Linked DNA regions of Homo sapiens: regions 2, 3, 4, 5, 6 and 7 are each linked to region 1. Evidence: promoter capture Hi-C in 16 types of primary human blood cells and fetal thymus (Javierre and others, 2016). All regions are on one chromosome and are shown on one strand. The core of a region is centred on a gene start or on the middle of the fragment in contact, and the rest is flanking DNA. Distances in the headings are between cores, read along the strand shown.

Region 1 (2,981 bases), core at 291-2,790:
CAAGCTCCAGCTTCTCAGAGAAGCCTCCTGTGTTGGGAGTGGCTGCGACTGAACTGTCCCTACTGTTATTCGCTCTTCTATTTGTTTGTGGTCCCTGTGCCCCCTCACCCCACAAAAACACTGGCTTCTTGTGAGCAGGAGCTTGCTCTTTCGTGTACCCTGTGTGTCCCCAAGGACCAAGCACCTTGTCTGGGCCACAGTAGGTGCTCAATACACATGTTGGCTGGACAGTGGTCACTGAGCGGCCGCACGTCGGGCACTCTCAGCACTTGCACAGGCCGCCCCAGACACCCCACTTCATTCCTGGGAGGTGTCATCATGTTGCTTGGACGACGGGGAGAGGGGGACCTGCCAGTGTTGGCCTCCATTTTCCCCCAGTCATCTGCCCCCAAGGCTCTGACTACTTTCTTTCTCACGGTACATCCTGCTATTCTGGAATCGGCCCTCGTGGGGCCACCTGGTACATGGCATTTGAGGCCCTCGTGGCTGATTAGGCCTCCCCCAACAGTGCCCTGTCTGCTGCCTCCAGGGCCAGCCTCCCCTTCAGACTGGAGTCCCCTGAAGGGTTCTGCCCCTCCCCTGCTCTGGTAGCCCCCTCCATCCTCCCTCCCTCCACTCCATCTTTGGGGGCATTTGAGTCACCTTTCTACACCAGTGATCTGCCCAAGCCACTGCTCACTTTCCTCTGGATAAAGCCAGGTTCCCCGGCCTAGCGTTCAAGACCCATTACAACTGCCCCCAGCCCAGATCTTCCCCACCTAGCCACCTGGCAAACTGCTCCTTCTCTCAAAGGCCCAAACATGGCCTCCCAGACTGCAACCCCCAGGCAGTCAGGCCCTGTCTCCACAACCTCACAGCCACCCTGGACGGAATCTGCTTCTTCCCACATTTGAGTCCTCCTCAGCCCCTGAGCTCCTCTGGGCAGGGCTGTTTCTTTCCATCTTTGTATTCCCAGGGGCCTGCAAATAAATGTTTAATGAACGAACAAGAGAGTGAATTCCAATTCCATGCAACAAGGATTGGGCTCCTGGGCCCTAGGCTATGTGTCTGGCACCAGAAACGGAAGCTGCAGGTTGCAGCCCCTGCCCTCATGGAGCTCCTCCTGTCAGAGGAGTGTGGGGACTGGATGACTCCAGAGGTAACTTGTGGGGGAACGAACAGGTAAGGGGCTGTGTGACGAGATGAGAGACTGGGAGAATAAACCAGAAAGTCTCTAGCTGTCCAGAGGACATAGCACAGAGGCCCATGGTCCCTATTTCAAACCCAGGCCACCAGACTGAGCTGGGACCTTGGGACAGACAAGTCATGCAGAAGTTAGGGGACCTTCTCCTCCCTTTTCCTGGATCCTGAGTACCTCTCCTCCCTGACCTCAGGCTTCCTCCTAGTGTCACCTTGGCCCCTCTTAGAAGCCAATTAGGCCCTCAGTTTCTGCAGCGGGGATTAATATGATTATGAACACCCCCAATCTCCCAGATGCTGATTCAGCCAGGAGCTTAGGAGGGGGAGGTCACTTTATAAGGGTCTGGGGGGGTCAGAACCCAGAGTCATCCAGCTGGAGCCCTGAGTGGCTGAGCTCAGGCCTTCGCAGCATTCTTGGGTGGGAGCAGCCACGGGTCAGCCACAAGGGCCACAGCCATGAATGGCACAGAAGGCCCTAACTTCTACGTGCCCTTCTCCAATGCGACGGGTGTGGTACGCAGCCCCTTCGAGTACCCACAGTACTACCTGGCTGAGCCATGGCAGTTCTCCATGCTGGCCGCCTACATGTTTCTGCTGATCGTGCTGGGCTTCCCCATCAACTTCCTCACGCTCTACGTCACCGTCCAGCACAAGAAGCTGCGCACGCCTCTCAACTACATCCTGCTCAACCTAGCCGTGGCTGACCTCTTCATGGTCCTAGGTGGCTTCACCAGCACCCTCTACACCTCTCTGCATGGATACTTCGTCTTCGGGCCCACAGGATGCAATTTGGAGGGCTTCTTTGCCACCCTGGGCGGTATGAGCCGGGTGTGGGTGGGGTGTGCAGGAGCCCGGGAGCATGGAGGGGTCTGGGAGAGTCCCGGGCTTGGCGGTGGTGGCTGAGAGGCCTTCTCCCTTCTCCTGTCCTGTCAATGTTATCCAAAGCCCTCATATATTCAGTCAACAAACACCATTCATGGTGATAGCCGGGCTGCTGTTTGTGCAGGGCTGGCACTGAACACTGCCTTGATCTTATTTGGAGCAATATGCGCTTGTCTAATTTCACAGCAAGAAAACTGAGCTGAGGCTCAAAGAAGTCAAGCGCCCTGCTGGGGCGTCACACAGGGACGGGTGCAGAGTTGAGTTGGAAGCCCGCATCTATCTCGGGCCATGTTTGCAGCACCAAGCCTCTGTTTCCCTTGGAGCAGCTGTGCTGAGTCAGACCCAGGCTGGGCACTGAGGGAGAGCTGGGCAAGCCAGACCCCTCCTCTCTGGGGGCCCAAGCTCAGGGTGGGAAGTGGATTTTCCATTCTCCAGTCATTGGGTCTTCCCTGTGCTGGGCAATGGGCTCGGTCCCCTCTGGCATCCTCTGCCTCCCCTCTCAGCCCCTGTCCTCAGGTGCCCCTCCAGCCTCCCTGCCGCGTTCCAAGTCTCCTGGTGTTGAGAACCGCAAGCAGCCGCTCTGAAGCAGTTCCTTTTTGCTTTAGAATAATGTCTTGCATTTAACAGGAAAACAGATGGGGTGCTGCAGGGATAACAGATCCCACTTAACAGAGAGGAAAACTGAGGCAGGGAGAGGGGAAGAGACTCATTTAGGGATGTGGCCAGGCAGCAACAAGAGCCTAGGTCTCCTGGCTGTGATCCAGGAATATCTCTGCTGAGATGCAGGAGGAGACGCTAGAAGCAGCCATTGCAAAGCTGGGTGACGGGGAGAGCTTACCGCCAGCCACAAGCGTCTCTCTGCCAGCCTTGCCCTGTCTCCCCCATGTCCAGGCTGCTGCCTCGGTCCCATTCTCAGGGAA
Region 2 (2,981 bases), core at 303-2,802, 470 kb after region 1:
AGAGCCAAAATTAGAGCTTCCTTGTATAACTCCCCACCTCCCAGCTCGAAGATGTTGCCACAGTTCACAGTTGAAGTTGGTTAGCCTGCTTTCTCTAGAAATGGGGCTCAGGGCAAGGATGAATGTGTGGCTGCTTCCTTTGGGTGGTGCAAGCCCAGATATGAGCCCAGGATGATCACAGGCCGAGAAAGGGAGCAGGGAAGCCATGGGAAGGGTGGTACCATGAGGCCATCACTCCACAATCACCCTCGTGGCTGCTCTGGAGGTACACCCACCTTACACAGAACACCTCCAGGAGGACTGCAAGGAGAAATCCAGTCTCAGATAGTCCAGAGAAAGATGGAAGGAGAGGGGGTTTATCTACCTGGATCCCTCCTGTCTCCTGGGTCTCATTAGTCAACCTTGGTTCTGTGGCCAATGAACGATAAATTCTTTTGTACTTCTGGCATCATTTGGTCATTTTGGGGGCTCTGAGGTCTTTCCATCCCACACCCTGTGGGGTGTGTTTCAAATACGGATGTAAGTCTTATTATTACTCAAGTACAGTGAGACCAACAGCTCAGGAGACGACTGCCACAGAAAAGAGTTTGTTACTCACAGGTCCCAAGAGGAGGGGGCATGCCATGCCAGGAAGAGCCACAAGGAGAGGCATGAGGGTCAATCAGGAGGCAGAGGGTGTGAGGGGCAAATGGGGCAAGATCCTTTACTTTAGTTTCCAGGTGAGGCAGGGTAAACAGGCTTAGGATTGGCTAGATTGAATAATTTCAGCAGGCTTTGGGGCATAGCGGCTGACCCTAGATGCTTGGTACCTGGCCCTGGAGTGATTAGGGCAGGAGAATAGTGGCCTGGAGTGAAAGAGCCCAGAGATAAAGGGGGTGGTGCGGGTGGGGGCTGTGCATTGATTAGTTTGCATGTTAAATGCACACTTACAGGCCAGTCCTTTACTATCTCTTGGCCATCCCTGGGAGGAGCAATCCCTCCAGGGTTACCAAGACCCCAGATGTCAAAGCATCAGAAACATAGAAGATAGAAAGGTATCATTAATACAGGGAAGAACCAGAAACTCTGGGCATGAGCTGGTGGATCTAGCTGCACTGTGGTGGCCAAGGGGGAGGGTCCTGCACACCCAGCAGGGACAATGTCCTCTGCCTATTGCGACTTCTTTGACCCAGCTCCTCCTACTCTCCCCTCATTCACACCATCCTCCTTAGCCTCCTTGCTGTTTCTGGAACATGCCAGGCAACAGGGACCAGGGCTGTAACTTTCCAGATCATTTTCTCTACATTTGTACACAGCCACATGCACATATATTTGCACACTATTGTCTCAAGACTTTTCTGATACCACCGCACATCTTAGAGCTGTCCTCATGTCAGTCGTTAGATATTTCCCTTGTTCTTTTTAATCACTATAATGGTTGACGCATGGGTGCATCAAAAGTCACTTATGCACACCCCTATGGATGGATATTTAGGTTATTTTCAGCACTTCCTGATTATAAACAACGCCATCATAAGCAGTCTTGCTCCTGTCTTTGTATAGACATGCGAGTTTCTGTGGGATAGAACACCTACAAGCAAAATTGCTAGGACAATGGGCATGGGTAGTTAACATTTTCACAAATACTGCCAACTGCTCCATAGAAAGCCGCTCCCAATTTATACACCCACCCATAGTGAGTGAGGTTTCAGAGAACTCATTGCTCCACACCATTTCCAACAACAGCTATTTTCAGTGATTAATCTTTTTGAAATCAATCTATTTTTTCTTTTTCTTTTTCTTTTTAGAGGTGGAGTCTCACTCTGTCACCCAGGCTGGAGTGCAGTGGTGAGATCTCAGCTCACCGTAGCCTCCACCTCCTGGGTTCAAGCGATTCTCCTGCCTCAGCCTCCCGAGTAGCTGGGATTACAGGTGCACCCACCACGCCCGGCTAATTTTTTTTTTTTTGAGACGGAGTTTTGCTCTTGTTGCCCAGGCTGGAGTGTGATGGCGTGATCTTGGCTCACTGCAACCTCCACCTTTTGGGTTCTAATGATTCTCCTGCCTCAGCCTCTTGAGCAGCTGGGATTACAGGCATGCGCCACCATGCCCAGCTAATTTTGTATTTTTAGTAGAGACGAGGTTTCTCCATGTTGGTCAGGCTGGTCTTGAACTCCTGACCTCAGGTGATCCACCCACCTCGGCCTCCCAAAGTGCTGGGATTACAGGCATGAGCCACTGCACCTGGCCTTAATTTTTGTATTTTTAGTAAAGACAGGGTTTCACCATTGTTGGCCAGGCTGGTCACAAACTCCTGACCTCAAGTGATATAGCTTGCCTCAGCCTCCCAAAGTGCTGGGATTACAGGTGTGAGCCACCACGCCTGGCTGAAATGAAATCAACTTCCTTCCTTCCTTCTTCTTTCCTTCCTTCCCTCCCTCCTTTCTCCCTTTCTTTCTTTTCTTTTTCTTTCTTTCTTTCTTTTTCTTCCTTTCTTTCTTTCCTTCTCTTTCCTTTCTTTTTCTTTCTTTCTGACTTTCCTTCCTTCCTTCTTTCTCTTTCTTTCTGACTTTCCTTCCTTCTTTCTCTCTTTTTCTCTCTCTCTTTCTCTCTTTTTCTTTCTCCTTCCTTCTTTTCTTTCTTTCTTTTCCTTCTCTTGCTCTGTTGCCCAGGCTGGAGTGGCTGGCACGATCTTGGCTCAAGCCAATCTCAGGTTCAAGCCATTCTCCTGCCTCAGCCTCCCAAGTAGCTGGGACTACAGGCACGCACCACTATGCCTAACTATGAAATCAGCCTATTTCTGGTAGCCACTCTATTTGATTCCAAAAATGGCTTGAAGCAGTTTTTACTCAAAAAAAATACCTGAAGTTCCTCTTTTGCAAGGATCTGCCAACATAGGCCATGTCTGCCCTCAAACCATGAAGAAGGCATCCTGGTCATCACCAAGAAGTACTACATTCACCTGGGCAGCAACTTCCACACACACACACAAGCATGAGTGC
Region 3 (2,981 bases), core at 188-2,687, 450 kb after region 1:
GTCCCTTTCGTGTGTGTCTGCCCTGTGTTTCTCCGTCGTCTCCGTGTGGATCTCGGTCTTTGTCTCGCCCTCTAGCTCTCTCGTGCGCCTGTGTTTAATCGTGCGCTTCTCTCAATCTCTCTGTCCCTCCCTTTGCCCCCTACACGCGTGTTCTCGTCAACAGATCTCCAGAGGTGGTGCAGAAACGACCCCGCGCCGGCGCCCCATCCTGCGGCCAGTGCCTCCGCGCCCCGGCTCCGGTCCCCACCGTCCCCGCCCCAGATTTCCGGAGGAGCAGGCGGGCGGGGTCCCGCGGGGCCGGCTGCCGTCAGCGCCCCTTCCCGGCGGCCGCGACCCCTCCCCGCTGACCTCACTCGAGCCGCCGCCTGGCGCAGATATAAGCGGCGGCCCATCTGAAGAGGGCTCGGCAGGCGCCCGGGGTCCTCAGCGCTGCAGACTCCTGACCTGCCGACTGCGGATCCCGAGTCCCCGGATCCCGGACCCATCCTGTGGAGCCCACTCCTGGCAGGTAACCGCCCCAACCCCTCTCCTTCCGCAGACGGTGTCCGGGAGCACTGGAAAGGGAGCCCTCTCGGCCCGCCCTCACCTTCGGTTCTCTGAGAGCTTCCTGGAGAACAGGGCCGGTGCACAGGCGGGCGCTGTGCTCGCACCCCCGGGTCCTCCCCGAGCGCAGGCCGGGGACCCGACGGGAGGCACGGCGCGGGCACATCGGAGGCTCTCGCTGCTGGGCACTCAGGTCGCCAGAGTCCGCAGCGCGGGGTGGGAGCTCCGCGGCACCCCCTGCCTGGGTGCCGCCGGACAGAGCTGGGTATTCAGGGCGTCGGCCTGAGAACCTGGGAGTTCGAATCCCAATCTCAACGCTAGAAATAGAATTTTAGCGTTGAAGTTAGGATTTTAGCGTTAGAATCAGATTCCTGGCTTAGTCATGAAAGCTTAGCATTAGAAATAGAATCTTAGCTTTGCAAATAGACTTTGAGCTTTAGAACCTGAATCTTAGCGATAGAAATGGGATCTTCGCGTTGGAATGAGGACGTCGGCCACGGAGCTTGGAGTTAGAACGTGGCGATGGGGACCTTTGGGGGAGTCTTGGCGGGGACGCAACCGTTAGCGTCGCGGCTGTGCCTGGCGCTGCAATCTCAATGGTTGCACTCCCGGCGAGGCAGTCCCAGCGTTGGCTTCCCCAGTTCCGCGTCACATTGAAGGGTGGCGGTGGCGCTGGCGATGGGGTTCCTACGGCCTCCTGCCTTGCGCAAGCAGAACTGGGCGCAGGCACTACAGGCACCCGTGGGGGCGAGGACGCCTAGAGGTGACAGGTGTGGACGCAGAGCCGGGGCGAACCCGCCGCTGCTCCCGCCCCTGCACGAGGGGCAGTGGTCCTGCTTCTGGGAGGGCGGTTGAACTGTGCGTGGTTTGTTTCTGGCGGGCGTCGGGGGAGATGGAGCGGGATGTGCTGTGATTCGGTGCGCTCAGGCTCCCTCTGTCCCCTAACCCAGACGCCGCGATGCCCGGCCCTTGGTTGCTGCTCGCTCTGGCTTTGACCCTGAACCTGACCGGTGTCCCCGGCGGCCGTGCTCAGCCAGAGGCGGCCCAGCAGGAGGCAGTGACGGCCGCGGAGCATCCGGGCCTGGATGACTTCCTGCGCCAGGTGGAGCGCCTCCTCTTCCTCCGGGAAAACATCCAGCGGCTGCAAGGGGACCAGGGTGAGCACTCCGGTGAGTGGATGGGGCTGTTGGGGGCTGTGGGGCTAGGCTATTGGGAGAGCCGTGGAAACCTGCCGGCAAAGGGGAGGGGAGGCTTGGTCAGCTAGCCTTCTGCCTTTCGGAAGCTCAGAAACCCTCCCTGGCTGCGCCTAGGCGGGATCTGGAGTTGACCATTCCTCGGGGTCAGATTCCTCCCCTGTCTCAATGCTGGGAATATTTCACAGAGAGCAGGCCCTGGGTGGGGAAGCTTCTGTGTGCTAGGGAGAGAGTTTCTTTGTGTGTGACAGTTTGAATTACTACTGTCTAGGCACTTCTGTGCCAGACACTATTCCAAGCACTTCAAACACCTTATCACACTGTTTGATCTTCCTAACAACCTCTTAGTTAGGTACTGTTATTACGATTTTACACAGAAGAAAACTGAGGCTCCCAGAGATCAATTGAGTCGCTTATGGTCAGACAACTAGGGAGCGCCAGAGCTGGGATTGGAACCCAGAGGCAATGCCTTTGACTATTGTGTGAATGTGTGTATCTGTGAGGCCTGAGGGGCAGGTGCAAGACCATGCCTCTGAGTGGGAGCTGCAGGAAATGTACCCTGCCTGGGAGAAAAGCAGGAGTGGGCACTCAGGCGCCTGCCTATTACATGGGTCAGGGGCCCCTCACTGACCTCTTTCCTTCCCCAGCGTCCCAGATCTTTCAATCTGACTGGCTCTCCAAACGTCAGCATCCAGGCAAAAGAGAGGAGGAGGAGGAAGAGGGAGTTGAAGAAGAGGAAGAGGAAGAAGGGGGGGCTGTGGGACCCCACAAACGGCAGCACCCTGGCCGACGAGAAGATGAGGCTTCATGGTCAGTCGATGTAACCCAGCACAAGCGGCAGCATCCTGGCCGGCGCTCCCCCTGGCTTGCATATGCTGTCCCGAAGCGGCAGCACCCAGGCAGAAGGCTGGCAGATCCCAAGGCTCAAAGGAGCTGGGAAGAAGAGGAGGAGGAGGAAGAGAGAGAGGAAGACCTGATGCCTGAAAAACGCCAGCATCCGGGCAAGAGGGCCCTGGGAGGCCCCTGTGGGCCCCAGGGAGCCTATGGTCAAGCGGGCCTTCTGCTGGGGCTCCTGGATGACCTGAGTAGGAGCCAGGGAGCTGAGGAAAAGCGGCAGCACCCTGGTCGGCGGGCAGCCTGGGTCAGAGAGCCCCTGGAGGAGTGAACCCAGTTTTCCCTGAAGTCGAGTTTGTGGTCTAAGGATGTCTTGAGCCCTGTGTGCCCCACCATTCATGACCTCTGTAT
Region 4 (2,981 bases), core at 236-2,735, 430 kb after region 1:
CCTTGTGAGATTGTTTTGTGAGGATTACAGGAGATCACGAATGCCAAGTACCTGGAACTCACCTGGCACACTCATGTGTGCTGAGCACAGATGGGTTGGGGGCCTCTGGCCATCCCCCTTGCCACCCCCCGCCATCTCTACTTCAGGGTCACGCTGATGCCTGGACACTTGCATGCTGCTCCTGGGGACACACATACTCCCTCTCCCTCCTCCCTTGCTGCTGAAACAAGTCAGGAGCCAGGCGATCAATGGCCGGCCTTGCCTGGGCGAGCTCTCTGCTCATTACAAGTGCCTGCCACCTCCGCGTCCCTCCTATCCAAGGACAGCTTGGTGGGGACCTAATTCAGAGAAGGAATGAAACAGCCAGGAGTCTGCTTCTCTCACCCCCTTCCTGTCCATGCCCCCATCTGCCCAGAGCCAGAGACCTTACTGCTCATACTGTTCTCAGGAGATAGTTAAGGTCTCCTGCCTGGAGACCTCAACATTCCCCTCTAGGGCATCTTGACGGTTCTGCCCAGTCATATCCTCAGCTGGTCACTTAGCCTAAACATCTACCATTAGTCCAGATGGCAACCACCTGTCTATTAGGTACTAATTGTGTGGCAGGTGGCTTACATCTCAATCAACCTCACCCAATCTCTGTGGTAGGAACTACAATGAGGTCAACTTGATAGAGAAGAAACTGAGGAGCAAATAAGTCACTTCTCCTGGAGAATAGTTGGGCTAGAGTCAGGCTGGCCTTATTCCCAGGGCTCTCTGCACTCGGAGGCTATCAAAATAGTCTCCAAATTCAAGCACCCTTTTGTCTGGTGCTCAACAGAAGAAATCCTGGGGTTTTGATGAAGAGATAGGCAAATAGAACTATTAATTTATTCTTTCATTCATTCTTTACTTCAGCATCTATTAAGTGGTAGGCTCTGTTCTAGATGAAGGGATAGAGCAGTCACCAAAAGAAATTCCCTGCTCCCAGAGTTTCCAATCTAGTGGCCCAGAGAGGTGACATCACTTGCCTCAGGTCAAACAGCCAGAAAGTAGCCATAACCAGAGGCAGAAGGGGTGATCATAGGGAGAGGTCTGATCTGACTCCCTAGGATCAGGCCAGCCAAGGCATGGAGGGCAGGACATACCTTGGCAACAGGCTGGCCAGGGTTCCAATCCCACTACTGCTATGTCCTCATCATGCAACTCTGGGAAAACCACTTTGCTTTTTTGAGCCTGTTTTCTTGTGGGTGGAATGGGGATAGTTAGAACCATGGTTGAAACAGGCCCTGAGAGGATGAAACAGGCCCTGGTAAATGTTGGGGACTGGCCTTCCCTTTCTCCTTCCAGGGAGGGTTGCAGGCTTCTTCCACCTCCTCTGTGAGCAACCTTGGCCTCAGTCAACCCTCATGAATGTGGAAGAGATCTGAGTGTACTGTGGCCTGATCAGCCACCTCTGCTTCCTGTATCTCATCAGCTTGCTCCTAGGGTCCTTGGGCATGGAGTGGCAAAGTTCTACAGCACATAAAGCACAAATTATTTAAAAAATATTAAAGAGATAATTGTGGTGTGTGGAGAATAGATTGGAGGTGGGGGGCATATCTGTCAGCTATTTCACAATAATGCCACATAACAAGCCACCCCAAAACCCAGTGGTTTCAAACAATGATCATCTCATCTCATAGGCCTGCAGACAAGTTGGAGTGGCTCTGCTCCAACTGTATCTGATTCTCCTCCCAGCAGCAGCGGGTGAGCCAAGGCATGTTCCAGTGGCCATGGCAGAAGCACAAGAGGGCGAGTGAAAATGCTCTTAAATCCCAGGTGGGGGCCCACTTATGCTCCATCCTGTTGACCAGTGCCATTCAATAGCCAAGGCCAAGGTTAAGGGAGACGGAAATCTATCCATCCCATTGGCAGAGGTGTGGCTGCAGGAAGAGGTGAAGAATTGGGACTAATTTTCAATATACCACAGGAGGAGGTGAGGAAGAAGTATGTCTACTTAAGAGGCCCCCATAGACATCCAGGTGAGTGAGGATGGACCAGACTGGCAGCAGTGGCAGTGATGAGAAATATCTGTTGACTGAATGAATGCTCAGACCCTTAATTCCACCTTGACCCTTAATTCCACTCCTAGGAATTCATGCTAATAACATAAACTAAACTGTGAAGATGTTCATTACAGCATTGCTTATAATAATAAAATATGGATACAACTTAAATGTGCATGAAATGTAACTCCTAAATTCTAGCATCTTAGAAAATGTAATAGAAAGAGACTGCTTTGGACTGGCGTGGTGGCTTACACCGGTAATCCCAGCACTTTGGGAGGCTGAGGCAGGAGGATCACTTGAGGACAGGAGTTTGAGACCAGCCTGGGCAACACAGCAAGACCTGTCTCTGCAAAAAATAAAAAAATTAGCCAAGTGTGGTGATGTGTACCTGTAGTCCCAGCTACTCGGGAGGCTGAAGCAAGAAGATCACTTGAGCCCAGGAGTTTGAGGTTATAGTGAGCTATAATTGTACCACTGCACTCTAGCCTGGGTGACAGAGTGAGACCCTATCTGAAAAGAAAGAGAGAGAAGAAAGAAATAAAAAGAGAAAGAAAGAATGAAAGAAAGAAAGAAGAAAGAAAGAAAGAGGGAGAGGAGACTGGACTGTGGAGTCAGATAGACCTGAGTTTGAATCCCAGCTCTATTGCTTTTGAGACGTGTGACCCTGAGAAAATCACCTCACCTCTCTGAGCCTCAGGTGTGGAGGAAGGAAAAGTCACGACTTTGTAGAGGAGGACAGAAAAAGTTCACTGGCATTAGAACAGGCTTCCTAGACAAGTGGGAGTCAAGCTGGGGAAGGAGGGATATGACTTGGAGAGGCAGATGGAGAAGGTAGGCGCCCCAGATGGGAGGGACATGCGTCCAAAGGTGCTGGTGGCAGGAACAACGTGGCACGTCTGAGGGAGTGAGGAAACTGTAGGATTGGAACTGAGGTGGAAGAGGAGCAGTGGA
Region 5 (2,981 bases), core at 211-2,710, 400 kb after region 1:
CGGACTCCTTCGGAGTGGGTGACTGATAGAGCTCAGATGACTGACCAGGGAGCCAGGGCTGTGATCAGGCTCTTGGGTTGGCTGGAATGACCAACCTAAATAGCCAGCACACCCCGAAGATGTCCTCCTGCCACCCACAGGGCCAATGTCCTTGCTTGCTCATTTAATGAGGGACCTGTCCTCCTTGTTTGTCTCTCTCCCCCAGCTCAAGAGTGAGACACCTGGACAGCTTGCCCTGAGGAAAACTTCAGAAAGAACTGAAGGGACACTGGTGTCTGGTATGGAAAAAGGATACCTCTGGGTAAAAGGAAGACTCTGGGTAGCTCTGGTGACCCAGCCTTGGATTCCAGCTCCCGTGGGGGAACACTTTCTCATGGTTAGGTCCCTCGAGGGAGAGATGGCCCTGGAGATGTGCGAGCAGGAGCTAGGAGATGGCCCGCCAGGACACGACAGAGGAGACTCGCAGGATGGGTGGGAAGCTCACCTAGATTAGAGTCTTCTGATGCACCTCCAGAGCCTGGTGGACTATACAGATCTGATTTGGCATTTGTGGAAAATTCAGATTCCTAGGCCAAACCTCTAGTCTTCTATTTGCTATGAGGTTAAGGTGAGACTGGGATCTGTAGTTGTAACAAGCTTCCGGGTGATGCTGGTGCAGAGTTCTAGATTGATGTCTCTGGGGGTGCAGGTTTGAGTGCCAGAGAGAAAAGAAATGTGCTTTATGCCTCATTGTGCCACTCTGGTAACTACGGCAGGACTCCACACATAGTAGGTATTCAAAGAATGCTTGTGGAAGGAAGGAAGGGAGAGAAGGAAGAATGGAGGAAGAAGAAGAAAAAAAAAGAGAGAAGAAAGGAAAAGAGGGAGGAAGGGAAGGAAGAAGTCAGGAGGGAGGAAGGGAGACCTTTGTCATTAAAACAAGAATCAGTACATTTAAGAACCGCTTCCCCTGGTGACCAAGAGTCCAAATTCTCATTTGACCAGCTTTGAATTACATAAGGAAGGAAGACCTAGTCCTTTGCTTAAAAATGTGCCCTCAGTGGTGGTTGCAAACTCAAATGTCTTCAGGGGATGGCAAATAATAGAAATGTGATAGGTATAGCGTTGCCAGGTATTGCAAATTAAAACACAGGATGCTCTTTTAAATTCAAATTTCAGATAAACAACGAATAAATTTCTAGTATAATTAGGTTACAAATACTATGTGAGACATACTTACACTGAAAATATTATTTGTTGTTTATTAAAAATTTAAATGTAATTGGGTGTCTTGTATTTATCTGACAATCCTAGCTAGGGGGTTGAGTAAAAATAAAGAAACTTGTGCCCATCCGCCACCCCCACCAAGACTTTGCTTCATGCATTTTGAGTTCTGTTGTTAGGTGCATAATATGTTAATAATTATTGTGTCTTCTTGCTGGACTGAAACTTTAATCATCATAAAATGTCCTTGTCTGTAGCAACAATTTTTGTCTTAGCCTATTTTGTCTGATATCGTATATAGCCACTCTAGCTGTATTTTAATTACTGTTTGCATAGTATATTTTTTTCATTCTTTTACTTTCAATCTATTTGAATATTTGAATCTGAAGTGTATCTCTTGTAAACAGTATATAACTGGATTAAAATCCATCTGCCTGCCGGGTGTGGTGGCTCATGCCTGTAATCCCAGCACTTTGGGAGGCTGAGGTGGGCAGATCGCTTGAGCCCAGGAGTTAGAGACCAGCCTGGGCAACATGGTGAAACCCTCATCTCTAAAAAAAAAATTATATATGAAAATTAGTGAGGCATGGTGGCACATGCCTGTAGTCCCAGCTACCTAGGAGGCTGAGGTGGGAGGATCATCTGAGCTCAGAAGTTTGAGGTTGCAGTGAGCTGTGATCACACCACTGCACTCCAGCCTGGGCAACAGAGTGAAATCCTGTCACAAAAAGAAAGAAAGAAAAAGAGAGAGATAGTTTTCCTAGAGACAGAATTTTTGATTGAGTCTTTCTTTCAGTTTCAAGTGATCCTCCTGCCTCAGCCTCCTAAACAGCTAAGACTACAGGTGTGTGCCACCATGCCTGGCTAATATTTCACTTTTTTTGTAGAGACATCATCTTGCTTTGTTGCCCAGGCTTGTCTTGAATCCCTGGCTTCAGGTGATCCTCTTGTCTCAGCCTCCTAAGGTGCTGGGATTATAGGTGTGAGGCACTGCACCAAGCCTTGGTGAGTCTTTCAGCACCTTGAACATGCCATCCCTTTGCCTTCTTGTCTCCACGGTTTCTGATGAGAAATCAGCTGTTAAGCTTATTGAGGATCCCTTGTATATGATGAGTCTTTTTCTGTCTTGCTACTTCCTACATTCATTGCCTTTGGCTTTCAATAGTTTCATTATGATGTGTCTAGGAGTGGATCTTTTGAATGTATCCTACTTGAGGACCTGTTGAGCTTCTTGATTTTGTAGATTACTGTTTTGAAAAGAAATCAAATTTAGGAAGTCTTTGGCCATCATGTCTCAAATATTCCTTCTGCCTTTTTCTCACTATCCTCTCATTTCCTCCTGAGGCCTCTATTATATGTATTTTAGTGTACTTTACGGTATCCCACAGTTATCTGAGGCTCTGTTCATTTTTTTTTCTTTCTGTTGCTCAGGCTAGATCACTGCAAATGACCAGTCTTCACATTAGCTGATTCTTTCTTCTGCCAGCTTAAATCTGCTGCTGAACCCTCCAGTGAATTGTTAACTTGTTATATATTTTTCAATTTTAAAGTTTCTATTTGTTTTTTTTCGTTTTGTTTTGTTTTGTTTTGTTTGACAGTCTTGCTCTTGTTGCCCAGGCTGGAGTGCAGTGGCATGATCTCGGGTCACTGCAATCTCCACCTCCTGGGTTCAAGCGATTCTCCTGCCTCAGCCTCCCAAGCAGCTGGGATTACAGGTACACGCCACGACACCCAGCTAAATTTTTTTTTTGTATTTTTAGTAGAGAAGGGGTTTCACC
Region 6 (2,981 bases), core at 238-2,737, 380 kb after region 1:
TGGGCATATCACTTGAGGTCAGGAGTTCAAGACCAGCCTGACCGACATGGTAAAACCCTGCCTCTACTAAAAATAGAAAAATTAGCCAGGTGTGGTGGTTTGCACCTGTAATCCCAGCTACTTGGGATGCTGAGGCACGAGAATCGCTTGAACCTGGGAGGCGGAGGTTGCAGTGAGCAGAGATCATGCCACTGCACTCCAGCCTGGGCCACAAACTCCATCTCAAAAAAAAAAAAAAAAAAAAATTTCGACACTTCATCTTAGCCAAAAGGCCAAGAAGTGATATGACTTAAAATTTCTAATGATTGTGCTAGTTTTTCTTACTTCAGGGCCTTTGCTTATGCTATTCCCTGTTCCTGATACTCCTTCCTCTCCAACAGAGTTGGCTTAAATGGTTCAGGTCTCAGCTTGAATGTCATTTCCTCAGGGTGGCCTTCCCTGACCCCACAAAGTCAGCTGCTCTTATGACATTCTCTCAAAACACTCTGAATTTCCTCTTAGCTCAACATACCCATAACTTCCCCTTACATTTCTGCCTTCCTCTCTGGACTGTAAGCTCCACCAGTGCAGGGACTTTGTCTCTGTCATTCTGAACCCACTGACCTCCATGTATCTTTAGGAGCTCAATAAATATTAATTAAATTAATAAATATTAAATTAAATATTAATTAAATCAATAAATATTGATAAATATTAATTAAATATTTATTTAATTAATATTTATTAAGATTTACAAATGAGTGAATGGTGGTCCTAGTCATATTAAATGAAGTATAATCCTGACTTATATTTGTATAACTCTTTTCTCTTTTTAGTACATTTTTACTTCTGTTTTCCCATTTGACCCTCCAAAAACTCAGCTCTACCTGGAGAGTCTCTCTCAGTCCTTAAAGTGCATATGAGATCCCCTAGCTGTTAGGTGTGAGCATGGACTGGAGGTGGATGGCCTGCCTTCCCATCCTAATTATGCCACTTCAGATCTGTGTCTTGGGCAAATTCCCTCACCTCTTTGTGCCCCAGTGTCTTCGTTTGTGCTTACCTCATAGGTGTACTATGAGGAGCAAATGAATATATAATGTAAAGATCTTGAACAGTGCCAGATACCTAACAAATGCTAGCTATCATTCCAGGAGCAGCATGAAGATGAAGAGTATAGGGGCCAGTATTACAGATTAGGCATCCCCAATATTGTGCTGAGTAGAAGAAGCTGGACACAAAACAGCACACACTGTGCATTTCCATTACATGAAGTTCAAGGATAGGCAAAACTAGCCTATGATGACAGAGGTAGGCTAGAACAGTAGTGGGCGGGGGCAAGCACACTGACTGGGAAGTACACAGTAGTCTTCTTGGGTGCTGGAAATGTTTTGTGTCTTGATCTGGGTGGTGGTTACACAGGTAAGTATGTCTACAGAAATTTTTTTTTTTTTTTTTGAGATGGAGTCTCGCTCTGTTGCACAGGCTGGAGTACAATGGCACCATCTCAGCTCACTGCAACCTCCGCCTCCAAGATTCAAGCAATTCTCGTGCCTTAGCCTCCCAAGGAGCTGGGATTACAGGCATATGCCACCATACCTGGCTAATTCTAATTTTTGTATTTTCAGTAGATACAGGGTTTCGCCATGTTGGCCAGGCTGGTCTCGAACTCGTGACCTCAGGTAATCTGCCCACCTCAGCCTCCCAAAGTGCTGGGAGTACAAGCGTGAGCCACCGCACCCAGCCAGAAATGTATTCTTAAGATTTGTGGCTGGGCACGGTGGCTCACGCTTGTACTCCCAGCACTTTGGGAGCCCGAGGTGGGTGGATCACATGAGTTCAGGAGTTCGAGACCACTCAGTGAGCCAGTCAGCTCCAGGGGAACAGAACTCCGACATCCTCCCTGCCGGGGCCTCACGGTCAGGATTGCTAGTGATTGGGATCTCAGGCTTATTGATCTAGTTTGTCTTCAAGTGATAGAAATCCAAAGCAAATAGGCATATGCAAAATCAGAGCCATTTATTGGGAGAATGCTGGTGTGCTTATGGAACATAGCCTTGGGAAGTGCAGGGAGGGCCTCAGAGACAAGTGGGCCCTTGGACACTTTCTCCCCTCTCTGCTTTTCCTAGTTTTATCAGATCAGCTTTCTCCCCATAATGGGGGATGTGGCTGCCATTAGTTCCTGAGCCTCATGCTAGAAAACCTGTATCCTGCGTCAGTCCAGTCCAGCAAATCTGAGGGAAAGGCTCTGATTGGCCCATTTTGAGTACAATGCCCATCCCTAGACCGATCAACTGTGGCCATGAGCGTATGACCAATAACACCCACTGAAATTACATAGTGATTAGAAAGCAGAAAGGAACAGGTCCCCAAAAGAAGGTGTTGTTCCCAGAAGAAAAGGGGGTGCTGGGCAGGGAAGACAATATCACAGATGTCACAGTGGTGGGACAGAGAGGGATACAACTAAGTCCATGAAGGCTGGCCTGTGTCTCTTCTAATTAAACATAACTTTCTCAGTCCCTGTTGTCCAGTAATCCAGAGACAAGGTCAGCAGGATCCTACCTTTGAGATCCAACTAACTCAGCAAGTGGTGGGAGGGGCACCAGAGAAACATCAGGTCCTGTCTCAAGCCAGGACCTTCAGCCCTGTCAACAGGACAGTCCAAGAGAGTGGTGGAAGCTCACCAGGCTGGGCCCCCACAAACCAGTCCTGATGCCACAACTAACAGGCTGGGCCTCAGTGTCCTCCTCTGTAAAATGAGAGCTGTTGAGCTACCTGATTAGAGAGATAACATTGAGTTCCTGAATGCCAAACAGCTTGGATTTAAATCTCAGCTCTAGGCCTGGCATGGTGCCTCACACTTGTAATCCTAGCACTTTGGGAGGACGAGGCGGGTGGATGGCTTGAGCCCAAAAGTTTGAGAGCAGCCTAGGCAACATGGCAAAATCCCACCTCTACAAAAAATACCAAAAAATTAGCCAGTCATGGTGACGTGCACCTGTAGT
Region 7 (2,981 bases), core at 400-2,899, 360 kb after region 1:
GACTCACGCCTGTAATCCCAGCACTTTAGGAAGCTGAGGAGGGTGGATTGCTTGGTTCTAGGAGTTCGAGACCAGCCTGGGCACCATGGTGAAACCCCATCTCTACAAAAAGTACAAAAATTAGCAGAGCATGATGGCACACATCTCTGGGCCCAGCTACTCCGGACATTGAGGTCAGAGGATCACTTGACCCCAGAGTGTTGAGGCTGCAGTGAGATGAGATCGTTCCACTGCACTCCAGTCTTGGTGACAGAGGGAGATCCTGTCTCAAAAAAACAAACAAACAAAACCTGACCAGTAATGTTCAAAACTGCCAAGGTCACTAAATACAGGGAAAGTCTGAGAAATTGTCACAACCAAGAGGAGCTAAGGAGACATAATTACTAAATGTAATGTGGTATTGTGGATGGGATCCTGGGATAGTGAAAGAACATTAAGGAAAAAACCTGTGGAAACCTGATAAAGTATGGTCTCTGTGATAATGTATCAATACTGGTTTATTAATACAGACAAATGATCACAGGGATGTAAGACGTTAATAATATGGGAAACAGTGTAGGATAGGCAGGAACTCTGCAGTATCTTTGCAATGTTTCTGTAAATCTAAATTTTAAAGTCTATTTTTAAAAATTATAACAAATTTATGATCAACGGCATCCCTGGAATTTTACTCAGTGCATCTAGGACACAAAAGATACTTAAAATATGGTCTTTGCCTTCAAGAAGCTTGTTGTCGCAGAGTGAAGACAAATGCTCATGAAACTAGTATAAAATACAAAAATAAGAAAAAATTAAATTGAAGAGTAAAGATAAAACTATATTAAGAATATAAAGAAGGTCTAGAATTATCAGGAAAGATTTGGTCAAGGAGATAAAACTTGAATTTGTACCTTAAAATATACTTCAGAGTAGCAAAGTTAAAAAAAAAAAAAAAGAATAAACTAAGCTCACAACAACCAGAAGGGTGAAGAAATAAGAAAAAGCTAACAGAAATTAAAATGGCTGGGGCATGGTGGCTCATGCTTATAAACCCAGCACTTTTGGAGGCCAAGGCAAGGGGGATCACTTGAGGCCAGGAGTTTGCCTAGGCAACATATGAGACCCCATCTCTCTCCATAATATCTTTAAAAAAAAGAAAAATAAAAACATTCAGCTCTGAAAAGTGAAGACTTAAATAGGAGACATAATAGCAGTGCTCAAACACTTTAAGGGTCATGTGGCAGAACTAACAGAGTTACACCTATACCCATTTAACTTACAAGCCAACCTCTGGCAAAATGTGACCAATGCTCAAGGACAAAGAGAGTGACAGCTGTTCAGTGGAGCCACAACAGGAAATGCCAATATGGATAGACAGGAAGCAGGTGGCTAAGTTCTCTACAACTTTTCAAAGGACAGTATGTATGTGAGCCCAAAGAAGTAAAAATCAGATTCTAATTCTGCAAATGTTTACTGACTATCTTAAGTGCCGGGCTCTTTCAAATACATTATCTTGTTTAATATTCGCAACACATCTATGAGCATGTATTAATGTAATAGAGGCTTAACATAAAAATAGAATTAAACCCTGCATGGAAACAGGAACATGTCAAAATTCTATACCATCCCCCACTCTCTGATAGGGACTCCAGAGCAGTTTTAAAAAGCCAAACAGTCTGAAGGCCCAGATACCTATATAACAATTTATTTCCTCTTGCTCTTTCCCTCAGTCAAGCTCTGTGGCTCTCAGCCTTTCATATTCGTAAGAATTTTATACAACTATACATACAAAAACATGCAGACCATACTTTTTGAGCAATTTATGGAATTTTCCAGAAGAGTTTTCATCTTACATGATTTTTGCCTCATGCACTAACTTGAGGACCTAACCCTGGGATGAGGTGCAACTCCACTGCAGTCTTACTCCATGGGTACTGTAAGGCAGGATCAGGAAGAGGAAACGGAAAGGTACCATCCTATTACATGAAGAACAACATTCTAACAAAGACATAAAATGTATTTACATAAAATGTAAGAATGACATGTTATGTGGGGAAGTTCAACACTGGAAAACAAGAGCAGCTCATCTGCACCTGCAGACCTTTGCACTCACTGTTTCATTTACCAGGAAAGCGCTACCATTTTTCAGGTCACAACTCAAATACCTTCTCCTTAATGAGGCCTCCTCTCACTAAGTAACCCTCCACCCACCTTTCAGTCATTCACTTGTCACATCAGCTTGTTTTATTTTCTTCATAATTCATATTAGGGGTCAGCAAACATTTTCTATAAAAGGCCAGACTATAATCTATAGGCCAAATCCACCTTGCCCCGTTTTATATGGCTAAGAATGGTTTTACATTTTTAAATGGCTAGGGGAAAATATTTTTAAAAACTCATTAATATTCTGTGACATGTGAAAATTTTATGAAATTCAAATTTCAGTGTCCCAAGTTTAACTGGAATATAAACATATTTGTTCACGTACTGTCTGTGGCTGCTTTTGTACTAAAACAGAATTGAGTAGTTGCAAAAGAGATCATATGGCCCAAAAACCCTGGTATGTACTGTACTTCCTGGTCCTTTACCAAAAAAAGCTTACTAACCACTGATTTATATCATTATCTGAAATGATCCTATTTGCTTGTTTGTTGTATATTCCTCATTCCCATACATACAGAATAAAGCTTAATTAGGGAAGAGGCCTTGTCTGTTTTGTCCCAACAATGTAGCCCAGTACTTAGAAAACATCCTGGAACAAAGTAAGGGCTCAATAAACATTTGATGAATTAATGAATGATCCATAAATGCCACTCTGAGGAGCTTAAACCTAAGCCCTGAGCCATTATATGTTCTGCACATTTATGAGAGGCATAAGCAGTCTTGCAGAAAAGGGGAAATATTCTACTATCAAGAAGGCCCAGTTTAAAGTAATGGTGGTTGGTCACCAACTAGTCTAGGGCACTGGGGTTCTTCATCAAATTGTAGACTACAGGTCTTTT

The links. The method cuts DNA at HindIII sites, captures the fragments that hold promoters and counts their contacts. A CHiCAGO score of 5 or more calls a contact.
Region 2: a contact is called between a fragment that was not itself captured here and the fragment with the promoter of RHO in region 1, in 5 of 17 cell types (neutrophils, naive B cells, erythroblasts and 2 more). The highest score is 6.5, in neutrophils.
Region 3: a contact is called between a fragment that was not itself captured here and the fragment with the promoter of RHO in region 1, in 2 of 17 cell types (naive CD4 T cells and erythroblasts). The highest score is 5.5, in naive CD4 T cells.
Region 4: a fragment that was not itself captured here is called in contact with the fragment with the promoter of RHO in region 1 in 2 of 17 cell types (erythroblasts and neutrophils); the score reaches 6.9 in erythroblasts.
Region 5: a contact is called between a fragment that was not itself captured here and the fragment with the promoter of RHO in region 1, in 5 of 17 cell types (neutrophils, naive B cells, erythroblasts and 2 more). The highest score is 10.5, in neutrophils.
Region 6: a fragment that was not itself captured here is called in contact with the fragment with the promoter of RHO in region 1 in 1 of 17 cell types (neutrophils); the score reaches 6.9 in neutrophils.
Region 7: a contact is called between a fragment that was not itself captured here and the fragment with the promoter of RHO in region 1, in 2 of 17 cell types (M2 macrophages and M0 macrophages). The highest score is 9.2, in M2 macrophages.

What each region holds. Positions count from the first base shown.
Region 1 is chr3:129,527,099-129,530,079 of GRCh38, forward strand. RHO (rhodopsin) reads left to right here and starts at 1,541. Exons shown (of 5, transcript NM_000539.3): 1 at 1,541-1,996. The coding sequence starts at 1,636. RefSeq lists enhancers at 1,492-2,217, 2,218-2,943. The HindIII fragment of the contact is 8,320 bases long and covers 1-2,981 here.
Region 2 is chr3:129,995,658-129,998,638 of GRCh38, forward strand. It overlaps the pseudogene LOC124906284 and the pseudogene RPS17P9. Among named protein-coding and RNA genes, the nearest start is that of TRH, 22 kb to the left of the region's middle. The HindIII fragment of the contact is 3,275 bases long and covers 1-2,981 here.
Region 3 is chr3:129,974,316-129,977,296 of GRCh38, forward strand. TRH (thyrotropin releasing hormone) reads left to right here and starts at 405. Exons shown (of 3, transcript NM_007117.5): 1 at 405-508; 2 at 1,494-1,712; 3 at 2,384-2,981. The coding sequence starts at 1,502. The coding sequence ends at 2,901. It also overlaps the pseudogene LOC124906284. The HindIII fragment of the contact is 1,015 bases long and covers 931-1,945 here.
Region 4 is chr3:129,955,751-129,958,731 of GRCh38, forward strand. No RefSeq gene overlaps it. Among named protein-coding and RNA genes, the nearest start is that of TRH, 17 kb to the right of the region's middle. The HindIII fragment of the contact is 5,965 bases long and covers 1-2,981 here.
Region 5 is chr3:129,927,307-129,930,287 of GRCh38, forward strand. No RefSeq gene overlaps it. Among named protein-coding and RNA genes, the nearest start is that of TMCC1-DT, 35 kb to the left of the region's middle. The HindIII fragment of the contact is 1,652 bases long and covers 635-2,286 here.
Region 6 is chr3:129,910,993-129,913,973 of GRCh38, forward strand. No RefSeq gene overlaps it. Among named protein-coding and RNA genes, the nearest start is that of TMCC1-DT, 19 kb to the left of the region's middle. The HindIII fragment of the contact is 8,267 bases long and covers 1-2,981 here.
Region 7 is chr3:129,889,003-129,891,983 of GRCh38, forward strand. All of the region lies in intron 1 of TMCC1 (transmembrane and coiled-coil domain family 1), which reads right to left. Among named protein-coding and RNA genes, the nearest start is that of TMCC1, 3.2 kb to the right of the region's middle. The HindIII fragment of the contact is 1,850 bases long and covers 725-2,574 here.